Regions from separate parts of the Homo sapiens genome. Here regions 1, 2 and 4 are each linked to region 3. Evidence: promoter capture Hi-C in 16 types of primary human blood cells and fetal thymus (Javierre and others, 2016). All regions are on one chromosome and are shown on one strand. Each heading gives the region's core, a stretch centred on a gene start or on the middle of the fragment in contact. The rest is flanking DNA. Distances are from core to core; before and after follow the strand shown. Region 1 overlaps IQGAP2 (IQ motif containing GTPase activating protein 2). Region 2 overlaps IQGAP2 (IQ motif containing GTPase activating protein 2). Region 3 holds the start of SV2C-AS2 (SV2C antisense RNA 2). Region 4 has its middle 42 kb from the start of F2RL1.

Region 1 (4,571 bases), core at 835-3,334, 290 kb before region 3:
AGTAGGATGACCAATTTAGGGGTTACTACAGAAGCAAAAGTGAGAAGTCTAAGTGAGGGTGGTTGCAGGGAAATGGAAACATCTTGCAGAGGTATAAGGCACATAGACTGGCTACTGACAGCAGGCTCTTTAGAGCACGAGGGTGCCCGGCTGAGGGCAGAGGGAAACTCAAATTGGGCTTCAGGTTTCTAAGCTTACAGGAGAGAATGGTGCCATTAACAAGTAACAGAAACAGTGGTGGTAGATATAAATTACCTTGGAAACACACTCTAAGGAGTCATATGAACCAGATGGCCAAATTTAAGTAGAACAAGAGAATTAGTTTCTCCAAAAAGACTAAAAACAAGGAAAACCCACCATCCTTCCATTACCTTTTGGCCATTCACTACATAGACAAGTGGTCAAATACCATTTGTTTAACCTAAGAAATCTCTGGTTTTTCCTTGGCAACTGTACATGACCCAAGAGAATTAGCCAACCTGCCTATTAGAGCCGTTCCAAAATCAGTAGCTGAAAAGAGCTTTTGTCAAGATCTGTGCAGACATCTCCCCCTGGTGGTTACAAGAATCCAAGATTCACTCATTTTAACTGGGGCTTTTATCTCAGCGACTCTCTCATCTGGCTCCCAATTCTGGCCATTTGATTTTCTCTCAAGATCCGCTATAGTGTTTTATAACAATGCTATCAGTTGTACTATCTGGTAGCACACTTCAGAAACATGAAATGAAAGATAAATGGATGTTGTTACCCACTGCCATGACCCACTGTGGTCTCAGGATTTCTTTGGCTTAATAATCAGAAGAGTGGAGTTTGGGGCCCAACTGCCCAATTTTAGGTCCATAACCCGGATTCTGTTTCTGCATCAGTGACATAAAAGAATTGGACTGGATGATTATTAAAGTTGCTTCCAACTCTTCTACATTCTGCGGTTTCCAAAAGACGCCCAAGGAAAGGTATGTTTCCAATAGTTCCTTTATTTTCAGCCTATCAAATAATCTTTGCCAACGACAAAGTCATTTATTAATTGCCACAGGATGATCACTTTCTGATTCTTCTTGTTCCCCAGAAGGAATACTGTAAACAAGGATACTAATTAGAAGGACTCTTAAAACAGACTAGTTTTCAAGAAACATGAGCATGGTATATGGATTTCTCCACCAACAGGCAAATTCCTCACTTTTAAGATCTGCCAAACATGCATTTCTGCATTGAAAGAAGGTTTGGAAAATGTTCCTTACCGTTCCACATATGCCTTGTCCAGATTGTTTAAGCCTATTGCGGGGCTTCTGAGTTGATTCTGCACAGACACAAGATCGTTGCTTTCCAAGGCCTGGTTTAGTAAAGCAACAGCAGACAACATTTCCACAGCAATCAAAAGCTCCTCGTGGGCCAAGTAGTTCTGTTGGAAAACATATGGCAACATAAGCTCCCCACACAACACACCTCATGTGCATGATGGAGGTTTACAATGCACATTTCAACAAACAACAAAAAGTCAAAGAACTTGATAGCTCAGCAGAAAGAGGAGTCGTGGCCACCTGCTTTCCACTGGCTTTAAGAACAGGTATATGGCTCCTGGGCTTTCATTAGATGATCATTTTTTGGGACTGGGTTGATTACAATGAAAAGTTACGATTCCACAAATATCTGCATTCCCATTGCTGATCCCTACTCCTAGCTATACTGGTTGCTTAAAGGCTCAGTCCAGCCATATAATTAAGCCAAGGACTAGATAACATTGTCACTGACTGAGAGTGCCAGGTAACATTTTAGCACAGCTAACGATTTCCAGTTTGAATTAAGGGTTAAGGGAAGGTTGGGAGAATTTCACTGAAAAGTTATAATCTGAAGCACAAAGCAAGGTCTTCAAACCAAGACTACTGATTTAATTCAAAAAAAGTTAAAGTGACATTTTCATAAATTTTAAAATAGAAATTTTAAAATACACTACCAGGTCAAGATATTTGAAGAAATCTGAGGTGATCTTTTGGTAAAGCAAGTAAAGCTCTCCAGGTTTTTTTGTTTGGTTTGGTTTGCTTTATTTTTATTATTATTATTTTTTGAGATGGAGTTTGGCTCTTGTTGCCCAGGCTGGGGTGCAATGGCACGATCTAGGCTCACTGCAGCCTCCGCCTCCCAGGTTCAAGCGATTCTTCTGCCTCAGCCTCCCAAAGTGCTGGGATTACAGGCATGAATCACCACACCTGGCCAGATCTCCAGGTTTATATGATTTAAAATCTGGATTTAGCTTATCCAAAAAAATACGTCTTAGATTTCAGAACACCCTTCCCCTTTAATATCTTCTTCCATTTAACCATTTTATATTATCTTGGCCCAACTTCAAAAGGAATATTTTTTTCATCATATTGAAGGGACATAAGGAGCAGGAGCATGAAAAAGAACCACTAAGGAAAAGCTGATACATATTTTACATTTAGGATATTACAGGTATTTAATATATAACATAATGTTCATCTTAAAATGCATTATTATATCTTTCTGGATCTCCACAGAAGTCTCGCAGCAAACTGATTTCAGAATAAAAAGGGATAGTTTAATCTTTCAAAGCAAATGGGAAGAAGGGGTTACCATCGAGAGCATGTAAGTAAATTTTATTTAAATATATTACATTAAATACAAGTTTAACATACAAAGTATCAAATTATAAGAGCAGAATGGAATCGTTTATAATTCACCTCCTCTATCTCTTTCAGTGACCTGTCCGTGGATACCTAAATTGGTTTACAGCAAAAAGGATAAGGAGAGAGGAAGAAGAAATGAGGTTGGACAGCCACAGGTTAACTATGGCCAGTTGAGGATGAATGAGTGTCCTCAAGCATAAGTAGCCTTGAGCTTCAGAGCCAGAGAAGTGGAAGAAAATATTAATGAGAGAACCTGAATGAAATTAAGAAAATAAGCTATTTTTCTTTTATTACAAATACTATATTTCTATTTAGGAAACATAGGGAGTCTTTTTAATTATTATTATTATTTTTGTAAAGATGAGGCCTATGTTGCCCAGGTTGGTCTTGAACTCCTGGCCTCAAGTGATCCTCCTGTCTCAGCCTCCCAAAGTGCTAAGATTACAGACAGGAACTACCACACTCAGCCAATACAGAAGTCTTAGTAAGCAAGAATAAGAAAACAAATGCTACCACTCAAGCTCTTTTGTGTATATCCTTTTATGTATTTTAAATTCATATATACATTTGCAGAGGTTTTGTCTTTATAACTGACTTCACTTTCTTTTTGCAAAAAACAAGATAATGCTATATATCTTAATCTTATTTTTCCCACTTAATATTAGTATGGATATCTTTTCCAGTCATTCTTTACATTATCATTTTTACTGGTTGCACATATTTCTCACATGTACAAGCACCATAAATGTTATTAATTTATAGGCAATCTGTTATTAATTAAACATTTGTTTCCTGGTTTTCAGTATTCTAAACAATGCTGTGAAACATCTCTGTGGCCAAAGCTATTTGGTTCATATCCTTCAGGCTTATTTTCTAGAACGTAACTGTCAGCATCATGGGCTTTTGATCTGTATTACTAAGACCACCCTGCAGAAAATCTGTATAATTCATACTCCCAGCAGCTGTGTAGGAGATGTTTGGGCCCCATATCTATCCCTACGCTGGGTTAAATCTTTCTAATCTTTACCAATCTAATTTTAAATCATAAGTGTACTGTGTTTTAATTTATATATTTTTTACTTCTGATTGAGTTTAAACTTTTTTTTTGTTTGTCATTTGTATAGTTCTTGTTTTATGAATTGCCTGCTCATGTTTTTGGCCTCTCTTTATTGTGTGTGGATAAGTGCTGATTGTGACTTTAAAGATCCAATGACTGTCCTGTGTTTTTCCTTAGAACTTTAATTTGTTAAATTATTTTTTATATTTAACATTTTATGTTGAAAATTTATTTTGATATATGTGTAGTGAGTTAATGTTTTCTTAACAAAGCTTAAACACTTGCAAGGATATCATTTATTAAATAGTTGTTTCCCCACCTTCTTGAAATACGAGCCTTGTTATATGCTGAATTCTTGGTTCTGCTTTCAGTAGTTTTCATTTTGTTTCATTGTTTGGCTTACAAGAGTGTTAGTAAACATGTTCTTAATTACTGTAACCTTGTATGAAATTATTGTTGAATGCTGTTGTCATATTAAGGTGCACAAGTTCACAAAAATCAAAGCCATGGTGCTAATGGTCTTATTTGCAGTTTCTAAAATTGCAGATTGAGCTTATTTTCTACATAAAAACATTATATATTGTAAAAAAAATACCACATCGGTATAGCTAAAATTTATCCAAGGTGTCTTCAAATATCACACAGAAAATAAGAACAACCTATTTTCACAGGTATATGTATAGACCACTGCTGGAATTTCCTAACTATGCTCTTAGATTCTTTATGTAGACTAAAAGCAAGAATTAACAAGGAAGAAGGCCTTGGAATTGGTACAGGTGGGCCAGTGAGACCAGGACTGGTACAAATTAGAGATCCCCGATCCCTATTCCCCTTTCCTAACTAGGCTTCCCTAGTGCGCCATGGCACGCAGG
Region 2 (4,672 bases), core at 492-2,991, 310 kb before region 3:
CTCCTATTGGTTCTGTTTCTGTGGAAAACCCTGGTAACTATAAAGGCCATGGAAAGGAGAAAAAGGCATTTATTAAGTAGAAATGGTCTAGTTCTCTAAAAATCAAGAGAAAAAAAGAATTTTATTCAATTATACAATTTGAGAGCTTAAAAACTATTTTTTACCTTCTGGATTTTGTTCAGCAACATTGTTACATTTTGTTGGAGATAGAGTCAAATCACTGACAATAGGGCAACCAACTAATTTCGGTATAATTATGTGTCCAAGAACTAAAACTTGGTAAGAATCCAAATCTTTCAGAAATTAAAAATCACATGACTTCAGGCACATAACCAAATCCAAAAAGGCAAGTTTCAAGAGCAAAGGAGGTGAGGGCTTACATTGTTTTGCTCTGTCCTTGTCCACGTTGGCATCATCGACGGCTTGCTGTATCTCATCCAGCCAAAGCACTTTGGAAACACTCTCAGAGTCCTGGGGACAATGTCACAGAATAAAAAGAAAGAAGAGTGAATGATGAGGAAACAGAATTAATAACTGCTTTTGAGGAGCCATTTAATCATAATTCCCACAAATTCTTAATCAGCAACTATCCAGCTCTGCCATATACTGTACACACTCCTAATGAAGCAGACCCCAAACCCGACCACTTCCTCCTTCTTCCCCACCACTCTTTAGTCCAGCCCCCCATCATCTCCCAACTGGACAGCTGCATCAGCCCCCTAGCAGCTTCTGCTGCATCTAAGCTTGCCCTCACCACAGTGGCCCTCTACAGAGGGCCCAGAGGATCCCTTCAAAATAGATAGCTCAGTGCACCACTCCTCTACTTAAAGCTTCCCCAAAGGCTTCCCCCGGCAGTTAGAAGGAAACACAGGGTGCCTTCTCAGGGATGGCGGGGCTCCAACGGCATGGCCCTGCCTACTGCCTCTCTGGCTGCACCTCACACCCGTTTACTTCCCCCTTCCTGTTCTAGACCTTCACACGAGTCTCTTTCAGACCACAATACTCTACCCTCACTGTGTGGCTGTTGGCTTTTTCTTACCATTCAGGTCTCAACTCAAATGCTACCTACTCCAAAAAGTCTTCCCGGGCTACCCTAGTCAAACACTCTCTCCCTCAATCAATTATTGTGGTTCCCAAACTAAGTGTCAAGGTGTCCCAGGGTACCATGGGATATTTTTAATTTGAGAGAAACACAGGGATCGTCGATATTTATCAGACACAGAGACAAAAATTAAAAACAAACAACAACATGGTGATTGTCCTCAAGGACCTAACAATGTAGTGTAAGAGACAGATGTGTCAAGACATATAGCTGGGCATGGTGGCTTACACCTGTAATCCCAGCACTTTGAGAGGCTGAGGGTGGTGGACCACTTGAGGTCAGGAGTTCGAGACCAGCCTGGCCAACATGGTGAAACCTCATCTCTACTAAAAATACAAAAATTAGCCAGGAGTGGTGGTGCATGCCTGTAGTCCCAGCTACTTGGGAGGAAGGCGGGAGGATTGCTTGAACCTGGTGGGTGGAGGTTGCAGTAAGCCAAGGTCAGGCCACTGAACTCCAGCCTTGGGACAGAGTGAGACTCTGTCTCACAAAAAAAAAAAAAAAAAAAGAAAAGAAGAAAAAAAAGAAAAAGAATTATAATACAATGTGATCAGGGCAATATATACTGCAGACACATGATCCAGACATAGGTGAGAAAGGGTTAACCTATGGTAAAGGTGTCAAGTTGCAGGGGGAGCAAAGACTAAGTAGTTAAAGATAGCTTTAGAAAGGAAGCAACAGCAGCAATGAAAATGTATTGCATTATTCCTATTATAGGTAAATATTCCTATTTAACTTTGGGTTGATTCTGATGGTCCTGCTACAAAAGCAGCCCTGACAGATATTAAGTGGAACTTCCAGGTAGCAATTGTGTTTTATAAAATCTTTTCTGAGATGGCAAGTAAATAATTATCAGCAGAGATATTTTCAGGAAACATGTGACATTTAACAAATGGGAACATTTTACCTATGTGTAGGAATAAGTGTCGTGTTCTAAATCCTAAGTCAAGACTGTGATGAATGAAAGGTAATGGATCTGGCACCGACTCCGTCATTTAAAACTTAAGATGGATGGGGGCAGGAAGGAGAGGAAATAGTCACTGGTTCCTCTGGCAGGCTTCTAACACTATTTTCCTCAGAGGTTAACGTGAGATAATGCATGTGGAAAGGGCTCTGAAAATGAGATAAACTATCTGTTATTTCATCGTGCAACATCTGGGCTAAAGGAGACCTCTGGGGAAGTGTTGGTGCCTGCTTCCACAATCACCTCTAGCTATGCGGCAGACTACAAGGGAAGCATCAGCAAGATTTTCCATTTCTTTCAAGAATGGATGGGGGAGGCTCAAACAGGAAGCCGGGTGGAAAGGGGAAGACTAGAGGAGGAAAAAAAGAGACAGGGAAGCAGGAGCTAATTTTTCTCTGTTTACAAGATCTAAGAGAACCCAACACTCCCCAGCTATAACCTAAAAACTAAGCTCTATGAGTTCATTTATGTGTCTCAGTTCTTTTGAAGGGTATTTGCCTTCCTTCATAACTTATCACTGTAGAAGATACACCACACAGATTTCTACCCAGATGAGAAGGCAGTAACAATCTTACTTCAAAGCTTAAAGTATTAGTCTTATAGGCCAAACTGAAGAGAGAAATTACAAATCAGATGAATTTAAGTCAACGGTTTAAATTATGAAACATTGAACTAACGATTACTAGAGTTAAATGTAAAACCAAAAGTAAAAGCTGAATCTTATCAATGTAAAGTCTGCTTTTTCTTATTTATTTTATTTTTGAGATGGAGTGTTGCTCTGTCACCCAGGCTTGCTCACTGCAACCTCCGCCTCTCAGGGTCAAGCTATTCTCCTGCCTCAGCCTCCCAAGTAGCTGGGATAACAGGCGCCCGCCACCACGCTCAGCTAATTTTTGCATTTTTAGTAGAGATGGGGTTTCACCATGTTGGTCAGGCTGGTCTCAAACTCCTGACCTCAAGTGATCCCCCCACCTCAGCCTTACAAAGTGCTGGGATTACAGGCATGAGCCACTGTGCCCAGCCAAGTCTGCTTTTTCAGTTGTTCACCAGAAGACTGAAAATAATAGTATATTTATGGGACGGCCACACCTCCACTTCAGTTAAACAGCCAGGTTCAACATAAGAGTTACAAATGAATTAAATGACCAGAAACTAGGCCATGTGCAAATCAAGTCATAAATTCCTGAATTTAGATAACTCCCAGAAAAGTTCTAATGAAACAAAAAAAACCTTTGTCAATATTTTAGGTTTTATATTTCTGCAATATAATAACATTCTATCTCAGTTTGTATAACCATATATTATGTAGTTGAAGTATTAAACACTGACCTTTGTAAAAATCTTGGTCTAATGTAATTTAATCAAGATGTGAAAGGTTTCCGCAGATCAATTTCTTCCTAGCATATCCCTAGCCTTTAAGTCTCATGTGAAATTTGTATTTTCTGATTCTTGCTGCATTTTGTAAAGAGCAGGCTGTGGGATGGTCAGGCTTCAAGTTTAAGTTTTATTAACTACAGAAAAATGTGTTATAATGCATTTTTTTACTGTATATTAAGTCATACTCTACAGAATATAACAATTCATAAAAGCTTATATGTTGTACAACAATGTGAATGTATTTAACATTACTGAACTGTACACTTAATACTGGTTAAGATAGTAAATTTTATGTTACGTATATTTTACCACTATTAAAAATATCTTATTGTAGACTTATTCACCAACACTCATGGAATAAAGGGAGTCCTCATTTTCATGATGTGCTATGATTTTAGTTTAACTGAACAGCGTTGTTTGGGAGGTTCCTCCAGTTATCTGACCCTAAGGGTTATTGAATGGCTCAAAACACATCAAGATAAGGCAAAAAAAAAAAAAAAAGCCTGAACAAACGCCATCCTCACCCGGCGAAGAAAAACCACCACCACTCAAAAGCCAGGTTCTGGCCAGGCACTGACGACAAACTGAAATCAATATTACATTGATGGAAAATTTTCAAAGTGATTCACCGCTCAATTTGAATTTCTTAAAAGTTTGTTTTCCATGATTAATTTATAATTATGTAAAGTGTTTAAGGATTAAGATTTGAAATAGCTGGGAAGATAAAGGAAAGGATAATTTATTAAGTAGAAATTACACTCTGGAACTGCATTTTTAAAACGGATAAGAAATGAAATGTGGGACAGATTCAAAACTTACTGCTGTTCAACATCTGTTTTTGGCTTAGTTCTGTAAAGGCCTGTGTAATTTCTGCCATTCTTTAAAAGCAAATCTACTAGGGGAGAATTACAGCACCTATTCAGAATAGATTGTTGGGGGTGGGTAAGAGTTAAATGCCTTTCTCCAGGGATAACGTAACACGTTCAGAGGCTTGGCCTGAGTCATGCTTACTGAAGCATCGAGTGGATTACATCCTTTCCCTGCGGAGGACCAGGGCAAGTTTCCTGCCTGCACGGCACAGGAGAGCAAACTTCTACAGACAGACCAAGGCTTCCATTTGCTGCTGACACATGGAACTGAGGTGAAATTGTGCTCCATGATTTTACAGATTTCATAACGTTTAAGAGACGGGACTCAGGTCATCAAAATGAAAGCCCTCATCTTTGCAG
Region 3 (4,575 bases), core at 736-3,235:
TGGCCCTTTCATGCAAGGGCTTGCTCAGTACCCAAGGACAGCGAGATGGACTTCCTTGGAGCTCAAAAACAAACTTTGTGACTGTTTTTGTGCTAGTACACTTGGCAGGATTTGCTTCCATTGTAATATATTGCCTGATGGCAAGGTTGTGGGAGCAGGAAGCATATATTCCCCACCCCCTTCACCCTCTACTTCTAACTACCAGAGACAAAATGAATCTGACTTTTGCTGGATAGCCAAAGCATAAACATATATAATATAATGATAAGGCGTATAAGGAAAAATCAAGCAGAGCAGAGGGCCAGGGATGGAGTGGATTACATAGGTTGGTTAGTCGCGATAGCTGAAAGATTCCTCTGTACCAAAATCTTCACAAATAAGTGAGATATTTATCTTTATATTAGACGTAGAATGTATTCAAGAAAGAATGAATGAAATTGCCATTACAGAATACCAGATGACGACAGTGAAGAGAATTCTAGAGCTAGAAAGGCCCTGAGATGCTATTTATTTCATACTCCTCATTTAAATCTCAAACAATCCAGGCCCAGCTAGGCTGAGTGGTGTCCCTGAGGTCGCACAGCTGGTCAGTAAGAGATCCAAGATGACAGACCTTCGGAACTGAAGAATGGGGAGGAAACAAGAGAACTCTGTCAAAACAAGGACAGTCCTAAGGGAAGGGCTTGGGTTGCTTAATTCTGGGAAAATGTTTTGATTTTAGCTCATCAAGGAAGAGACCAATCCCACTGCACTGGGTGATGGCAGCAGCTGCCCAGGACTCTCAGGGATCGGCAGGTGTGAACAATCAGATCCTCAAATCCTTTCTGACCTCATGTCTGAAACTGTGCATGCATAAGGGGGCATAAGGGGGAAAGAAAAGGGAAGAAGGTAGGCAGAGAAAGGCAGGAACATGCGGCCAAACGACACCATGAGACAGGCTTGCCTGGCCCTGGGAGTCTGTGCAGAGTTGCAGGACGGCCCTGAGAGCGTGGGCTGCATCTCACAAGGTGTGCGCTCCTGGCCCCGAGCGCCACGGAGGAGGGGTAAAGATGGCCCCTAATGGCTGGGCACGCTGGCTCATGTCTGTAATCCCAGCACGTTGGGAGGCCGAGGCAGGCAGATCACTTGAGGTCAGGAGTTCGAGACCAGCCTGGCCAACACGGTGAAACCCCGTCTCTATTAAAAATACAAAAATTAGCTGGGAGTGGTGGAAGGCACCTATAATCCCAGTTACTCAGGAGGCCGAGGCAGGAGAATTGCTTGAATCTGGGAAGCAGAGATTGCAGTGAGTGGAGATTGCGTCACTGCACTCCAGCCTGGGTGACAGAGTGAGACCCTGTCCCCCCCCCCAAAAAAAAAAAGTGGCCCCTGAGCCATAAGCACACAGGAAATGTGAGCAGGGGACTTGGCCACAGCCACATAGTGGCAGCAGAAAGTTAACACCTGGACGCAGAGAAACATAAAGGCCAAAACCTAGAACTGGAATGAGCTGGAACAGGCCTACACCGCGGGAGCTACATTTATGACTTTTGAGAGATTTACAACTTTCACAAAGCAGGGAGAGAAAAGTAGGGACCCTGATGGATGGAAAAAATCCATTTCAACCTGTCATTACATATACTTTCATTTTGAAGACTTCAAGAGATGAGGGAAAATTGACTTATTTTTCCCAGTTAGGGTATTGAGGGAAGCTGACCAGCACAGACTAAACCCAAAAAATGAAATGCATCTTCTGTTGGTGTTCTCAGTTCTACCGCAAAGAGGGTTGAAAGTAATTTTGCTGGTGGCAGGGACTGGGGACGGAGAAATGAGGGAAAAGGAAGCTCCCCCACACCAGTATGTTAGATGGTTGGGGCTCCTTTCAGATTTACGGCAAGCTGGAAAATCCATTCTATGTCTGGCTCATGTCACATTCATATTTCATGTCTATTAGAAGAATCTCATGCCACATCAATTGTTTGTGATCTACATTACATATAATAGGCTCTCTGCTTATCTTTGACACAGGTGAGGGGCTGATGTAGAAACTGTTAAAAGACTATACAATGACTTGTATATTCAATAATGGCTCAAACTTCAAAGGTCTATCATTTTGCCCTGCTCTTCATTTCTTTCCTCATAATGCTTCTCAAAGCAATCTTGTCTTTCCAGCCTCACAATCAAGGACAAATTCCTGAATGCAACATTTGCTTTTCCGTCTTCCCGCTTCACCTCACTCATCCCTGCAGAAGTACAAGTATTCCTGGCTTCTTCAAGTCTACGCCTAAGAATTAAGAGCCTTGGGGAGAAGGGCACTGCATCGACCACTGCATCTCAATCATTGTGGCAGACGTACCACAGCACTGGGAAGCTGGCCTTGGCAAGAATCTCAGGCTATTACTACAGAGTTGGGAAGAAGGTTTAGGATCAAGATAGAGGTGACTGACCAAGGTGAGTGCATGAGCAGAGAGGTGCCTTCAACTTCCACTGCAGACAGTTCTGATATCTTGCCTCTACCTGAGGTGAGTTCTAGCCCTGGGCAAGTCAGTCCAATGAATGTCATTGAGAACCAGCTGCAAACTACTACTGCCCTACTGACCTAAGCACAGAGGTTATAGGGAAGTCTAACTTGCAAAGCCTTCTCTCAATGTCATACACCATTTTTGAAGATCAAGACATCTTAATACTTTGACCACTTGCTTCCAGGCTAGTTTTTTTGTATTCCACTCTGCCAGCCTGAGTTTCTAGCTCACTGAACTCTTGTCTCCTGGCCTGGTATCCTAACTCTGGTGTCTGTTATTTCTTAGTCCAGATCTGTGTTACCTCTGGATTTTCTTACGTTGATGGATTTACCCCCAGACTCCAACTCTTGCCTCTCAGACATGTTATTTCTATGGAGGCCTTTGTTTTCTGTTTCCTTTGACTTGAACTATTCCAGGTCTCTCTCTTAGACATATTTTCAGAATCTAACCACTTTCTCACCACCTCCATTGGCACCATTACCTCTTGCCACATTTCTTGCTGTGGACTTCATAAGTCAGTTCATGTCACTCATCTGCCCCCAAACCCCACATTGGATTTCATTTTACTCAGCAAGAAGACCAAAGCCCTTTTATTGTCCACTCTGACCCCATGGCTTCTTACCCTCTACCTTGGTCATTCTGCTCCAGCCAGACAAGCTTTGCCTCTCTTCCAACTGGTCTCTCACACTCCCACCTCAGGACCTTTGCACCTGCTGTTGCCTCTGCTGTGAATACACTCTCTCCAGATGTCTGCCTGGGTCTTTGCTCAAATGTCAGCTTTACAGTCACATCCCCCTAGACCATTCTATTTACAGTTGTAACTCTCCTTACCCCAGCATTCTCTATGCTCCACGTAGCTTTATTTTTCTCTACAGCACTTAGCACCATCCAATATACTACATCTACTTTACTTATCTGTTTGTTGGACTGTCTTCCTCAAACTATTATAGAATATAAGCTCTATCAAGGCAAAGCTTTCTGTCTGTTTTGTTCACTGCTGTCTCCCAATGACTAAAATAGTTCCTGGCACAGGATATGCATTCCATAATCATTTTTTTTTTTTGAATGAAATAGTGAATGACCTCTCTATCCCCAGCTCAGGTATCTTTCTGGCATCCAAACAAAAATATTCAAATGCCAATCGGACAGCCCCAGGTTGATGTAAAAACTCAACATGTCCAAAATGGAACTTATTACCTTCTTGACCACAGCCCAGACCCACTGTCCCTCCTGTGTCCCAGCCTCAAAATGCCATTGTGCTCCTGCAGGTGGTTTTTAAAATTAAAAAACATAAACAAAACCTGCCATCTCCATTCACTCAACTGTACACGCAGAAACTGGAATCATCTTTCTTTGACAACCTCTTTTCTTCCCCCTAACATCTAATCAAGCACCAAGCTTTGTTGAATGTATCCCTAAATATCTGTGAACATGTTGAGTGTTGACTTTTCCCCTTTCCAACCTACATTTTTCTTTCTTTCTTTCTGTTTTTTTTTTTTTTTTTTTTTTTTTTGAGATGGAGTTTCGCTCTGTCGCCCAGGCTGGAGCACAGTGGTGCGATCTCGGCTCACTGCAAGCTCCGCCTCCCGGGTTCACGCCATTCTCCTGCCTCAGCCTCCCGAGTGGCTGGGACTACAGGCGCCAGCCACGATGCCTGGCTAATTTTTTGTATTTTTAGTAGAGACGGGGTTTCACCTTGTTAGCCAGGATGGTCTCGATCTCCTGACCTCGTAATCCGCCTGCCTTGGCCTCCCAAAGTGCTGGGATTACAGACGTGAGCCACCGTGCCCGGCCTCCAACCTACAACTTAAGTGTCTTAACCAGCCTCCCTGCCTTCTTTCTGGCCATTAGAGGGAGCTCTCTAAAGGCCAAGAATGATCTTGTCATTCTCTGTAAGACAGCTCAAAGTCTCCCCGTCCCCACACAATAAGGCAATGTGAAAGAGTCTTCATGACTTGTTCTTTGAGTAACTCTTTTACTTCCAGAGCTTGTTAGCTGGTATTTGCTCTAACTGAAATGTTCTTTCCATCTTTTTGACTGGTTATCACCTACTAGATCTCAATTAAATGGAACT
Region 4 (4,239 bases), core at 1,246-3,745, 460 kb before region 3:
CTCATTTTTGTTTTTGTTTTGCTTTCTATTTTGTCTATGGGTGTACAATCAATGATATTTATATGGCCTGGATAACAGAGGTGGGAACTCATGTGCTGATATCCCTTAGAAACTAGGAGTTTTCAATAGTTAAACAATTCAAGAGTAATTACTTACTTTTTTTTTTTTAGATGAATTTTGCTCTTGCTGCGCAGACTGGAGTTCAATGGTGCGATATTGGTTCACTGCAACCTCCACCTCCTGGGTTCAAGTGATTCTCCTGCCTCAGCCTCCCAAGTAGCTGGGATTACAGGAATGCGCCACCAGGCCTGACTAATTTTGTATTTTAGTAGAGACAGGGTTTCATTATGTTGGTCAGGCCGGTCTCGGACTCCTGACCTCAAGTGATCCTCCCGCCTCAGCCTCCCAAAGTACTGGGATTACAGGCGTGAGCCACCACGCCCAGCCTGAGTAATTACTTTTTAATGATATGTAGTTATGAATGTGCATATATGCTCACAATATATTAAGTGCAAATTACAGAACTGCATTGTATGCTCTATTTCTGATATATATATATATATATATATATATATATTTTTTTTTTTTTTTTGAAATTAATTTATTATTTTTTTCAGACAGAGTCTTGCTCTGTCGCCCAGGCTGGAGTGGAATGGTGCAATCTCAGCTCACTGCAACCTCCACCTCCCGGACTCAAGCAATCCTCCCACCTCAGCCTCCTGAGTGGCTGGGATTACAGATGCCTGCCACCATGACTGACTAATTTTTGTATTTTTAGTAGAGATGGAGTTTCACCACGTTGGCCAGGCTGGTCTCAAACTCCTGACCTCAAGTGATCCATCTGCCTTGGCCTCCCAAAGTGCTGGGATTACAGGCGTGAGCCACTGGGCCCAGCCGAAAGTAAGTTTTAACTGAACTTGGAAGTATCTGATCTTTATCTGAAAGGACTGTTAACCATGGCACCAAGGACAACCTTACTGATTCTTTTTGCAATTCGAGTTCTAATAAATTTAAAACATAATTTCTCTGTACACTGTGTAATATTCATTTTTGTTCTCTTCAGTTTGCCTGACACAATTTGGGCCCAATACACTTTTGGTAAATGAGTAATATGAATAAATGGAATGGAGATCTCACAGTGTGAGAATCTCAGCCAACTACAGTAATGGGAAGGGGGCTGGTTTACAAGGTTGATAAAGAGATGCATTTTTATTTGTCAGCATCCAGAGGTCCATATGGACAGGGTTTGCCTTCTACCTGCTGCTAGGAATACTAGCCTAGTCTCTGTGATTTTAAAAATAACCCAAGAGGCGGCCGGGTGTCGTGACTCACGCCTGTAATCTCAGCACTTTGGGAGGCCAAGGTGGATGGATCACAAGGTCAGGAGATCGAGATGATCCTGGCTAAGACAGTGAAACCCTGTCTCTACTAAAAATACAAAAAATTAGCTGGGTCTGCTGGCGTGCACCTGTAATCCCAGCTATTTGGGAGGTTGAGGCAGGAGAATCGCTTGAACCTGGGAGGCAGAGGTTGCAGTAAGCTAAGATTGTCCCACTGCACTCCAGCCTGGGCAACAGAGCGAGACTCTGTCTCAAAAATAAATAAGTAAATAAAAATAAAAAACGCAAGAGGCTATGTTTTAGGTACATAAAGATATTAGAATTTTCATATTTTTTCAGACCTGTGCTCTATCCTACACAGCATTCAAATCCAGCAGGATTTATATGCCTGATTCTAAAAGTCGATCTCAAAGCTTACGAATCAACCCCCATCCTAGTTAACCCATTATGGCTTTATCATCCCTGAACTTATCTAACATCCTACTCCTTTTTTTTTTTTTTTTTTTTTTGAAACAGTGTTTCACTGTCATACCCCAGGCTGGAGTGCAATGGCACAATATCGGCTCACTGCAACCTCCACATCCCGGGTTCAAGCAATTCTCCTGCCTCAGCCTCCCGAGTAGCTGGGATTACAGGCACGCGCCTCCACGCCCGGCTAATTTTTGTATTTTTAGTAGAGATGGGGTTTCACCATGATGGCAGGGCTGGTCTTGAACTCCTGACCTCAAGTGATCCGCCCACCTCGGCCTCCCAACGTGCTAGGATTATAGGCATGAGCCACTGCGCCTGGCCCTAATATCCTACTCTTATATTTATGTTTGTTCTAGAAACAATTTTGGGTGAAATTTTATGTTTACTAAAGATAGACAAAAATCACCCATAACCCGGCTACCCCATCTCAGGGGGTGTATAGCCATCACTGACCTTTGAATTTGTCGTGAAAGCCTGGAAAGATGTCAATGGTACCTAAAAGACATACGATGGAAGATTTTTTTTTTAACTTAGAAAGGCTCAACTTAAAGCTTATATTGGAAAAAGTAAATTATTCTTAATTCAGAGCACAAACCAGTCAAATCTGCCAATCATCAACAGATGGCATCTTTCACACATTGTACATGCCACAGTCTAAAACAAAATTTGCAAATTGACTATAAGAGTAAAAATTTGAGCCCACACACTGCTTTTTATTTTTTCACTCATTGTATATAAGATGAGTTTTAAGTATATTCTGGTTACTAGTTTAGGTCCAGTGGATACAGCAATGAACACAACCACTATCAAAGCTTTTATGTAAACTGATGTTTTGGGCAACACAGACAATAAAAAAGATAAGTGAAATTTTAGTGCATTAAATTGTATTAAGAGCGAAGAAGAGAAAACAACGCAGGTAAGTGGTAGATTAAATTTTAGCCTGTGGCCAGGAAGTGTCACTAAGATATCTTTGTGGCCGGACAAGGTGGCTCACACCTGTAATCCCAACATGTGGGGAGGTTGAGGCGGGAGGATCTCCTGTCCAGGATTTTGAAACCAGCCTGAGCAACATGGGCAGATTCCACCTGTACAAAAAATAAAAACATTAGCCAGGCATGGTGGCCGGTGCCTGCAGTCCCAGCTACTTCGGAGGCTGAGGTGGGAAGATCTGCTTGAGCCTAGGAGTTCAAGGCTGCAGTGAGCTGTGATCCTGCCACTGCCCTCCAGCCTGGGTGACAGAGTAAGACTCTGTCTCACAAAAAAAGAAGGAAAAAAAAAAAAGAAGTCTCTTGAAGAGAGGTAGGAAGGCAGTGAGGGAGCCAGCAATGCAGACTCTAATGAGAAGGGCATCTTGGGCCCAGGGAAGTGGGTGTGAAGAGGCCAGAGTATGCAGATGATTGAAAAGGTCAGTGTGGCTGGTGCTGGGAGAAGGAGGGATTGGAGGAGGAGATGAGGACAGAGAAGAGGGGTGGTGAAGATTAAACGTGGCCTTGTAGGTCATCGTAGGGCTTTGGCTTTCGCTCTGAATGAGAGTTAAAGCCATTTGACAGTTGGTTGCAGATATTATGACATTTTATCCCTAAAAACTTCAGCATGCATCTCTTAAAATAAGGACACTCTATGTAGATATTCATTAGTAGAAGTTTGCTTTTTAAAAATTATTATCATTGGCCGAGAGCTGTGGCTCATGCCTGTAATCCCAGCACTTTCGGAGGCCGAGGCGATTGGATCACTTGAGGTAAGGAGTTTGAGACCAGCCTGGCCAACATGGCGAAACCCTGTCTCTACTAAAAATACAAAAATTAGCCAGGTGTGGTGGTGTGGGCCTGTAATCCCAGCTACTTGGGAGGCTGAGACAAAATTGCTTGAACCCAGGAGGTGGAGGTTGCAGTGAGCTGAGATCGTGCCACTGCACTCCAGCCTGGGCAACAGGGCAAGACTCCATCTCAAAAAAACAAAACAAAACAAAATTATCATTATTTATTTAGAGATAGAGTCTCACTCTGATCCAGGCTGATATACAGTGGTACAATCATCACTCACTGCAGCCTCGGCCTCTAGGCTCTAGTAATCCTCCCACCTCAGCCTCCTACGTAGCTGGGACCAGACACCTGCCACCACACCTGGTTAATTTTTTTTTTAACTTTTTGTAGAGACGGTGCCTCACTGTGTTGTCTGTCTCGAACTTCTGCACTTAAGTGACCCTCCTGCCTCAGCTCCCATACAGGTGTCGGTCCCAGGCTTGAAAATTACTTAATATTCCCAAATCATCTAATATCCATCTTACGTTCAAATTTCCCAAATTGTTATGTAAATAATTTTGGAAATCATATCTATTGATTAAAGAACGTAAATAAATACACGTGCCTGACACTGCCTTCATGCAGTCTTTCCAAGTGCAGATTTCTTTTTTAACTTCACCCTGGAA

The links. Contacts are between HindIII fragments. The CHiCAGO score rates a contact against its expected background, and 5 or more counts as called.
Region 1: a fragment that was not itself captured here is called in contact with the fragment with the promoter of SV2C-AS2 in region 3 in 6 of 17 cell types (total CD8 T cells, naive CD4 T cells, activated CD4 T cells and 3 more); the score reaches 7.2 in total CD8 T cells.
Region 2: a fragment that was not itself captured here is called in contact with the fragment with the promoter of SV2C-AS2 in region 3 in 1 of 17 cell types (total CD8 T cells); the score reaches 5.3 in total CD8 T cells.
Region 4: a fragment that was not itself captured here is called in contact with the fragment with the promoter of SV2C-AS2 in region 3 in 1 of 17 cell types (M2 macrophages); the score reaches 5.4 in M2 macrophages.

What each region holds. Positions count from the first base shown.
Region 1 is chr5:76,597,640-76,602,210 of GRCh38, reverse strand. It overlaps IQGAP2 (IQ motif containing GTPase activating protein 2), which reads right to left. Exons shown (of 36, transcript NM_006633.5): 11 at 1,239-1,399. Among named protein-coding and RNA genes, the nearest start is that of F2RL2, 23 kb to the left of the region's middle. The HindIII fragment of the contact is 3,778 bases long and covers 196-3,973 here.
Region 2 is chr5:76,623,209-76,627,880 of GRCh38, reverse strand. It overlaps IQGAP2 (IQ motif containing GTPase activating protein 2), which reads right to left. Exons shown (of 36, transcript NM_006633.5): 14 at 381-471. It overlaps F2RL2 (coagulation factor II thrombin receptor like 2), which reads left to right and starts at 4,478. Exons shown (of 2, transcript NM_004101.4): 1 at 4,478-4,672. The coding sequence starts at 4,651. RefSeq lists a silencer at 4,403-4,672. The HindIII fragment of the contact is 1,818 bases long and covers 833-2,650 here.
Region 3 is chr5:76,309,039-76,313,613 of GRCh38, reverse strand. It overlaps SV2C-AS2 (SV2C antisense RNA 2), which reads left to right and starts at 1,985. Exons shown (of 4, transcript XR_001742750.2): 1 at 1,985-2,430. All of the region lies in intron 12 of SV2C (synaptic vesicle glycoprotein 2C), which reads right to left. The HindIII fragment of the contact is 6,036 bases long and covers 1-3,160 here.
Region 4 is chr5:76,774,795-76,779,033 of GRCh38, reverse strand. No RefSeq gene overlaps it. Among named protein-coding and RNA genes, the nearest start is that of F2RL1, 42 kb to the left of the region's middle. The HindIII fragment of the contact is 261 bases long and covers 2,365-2,625 here.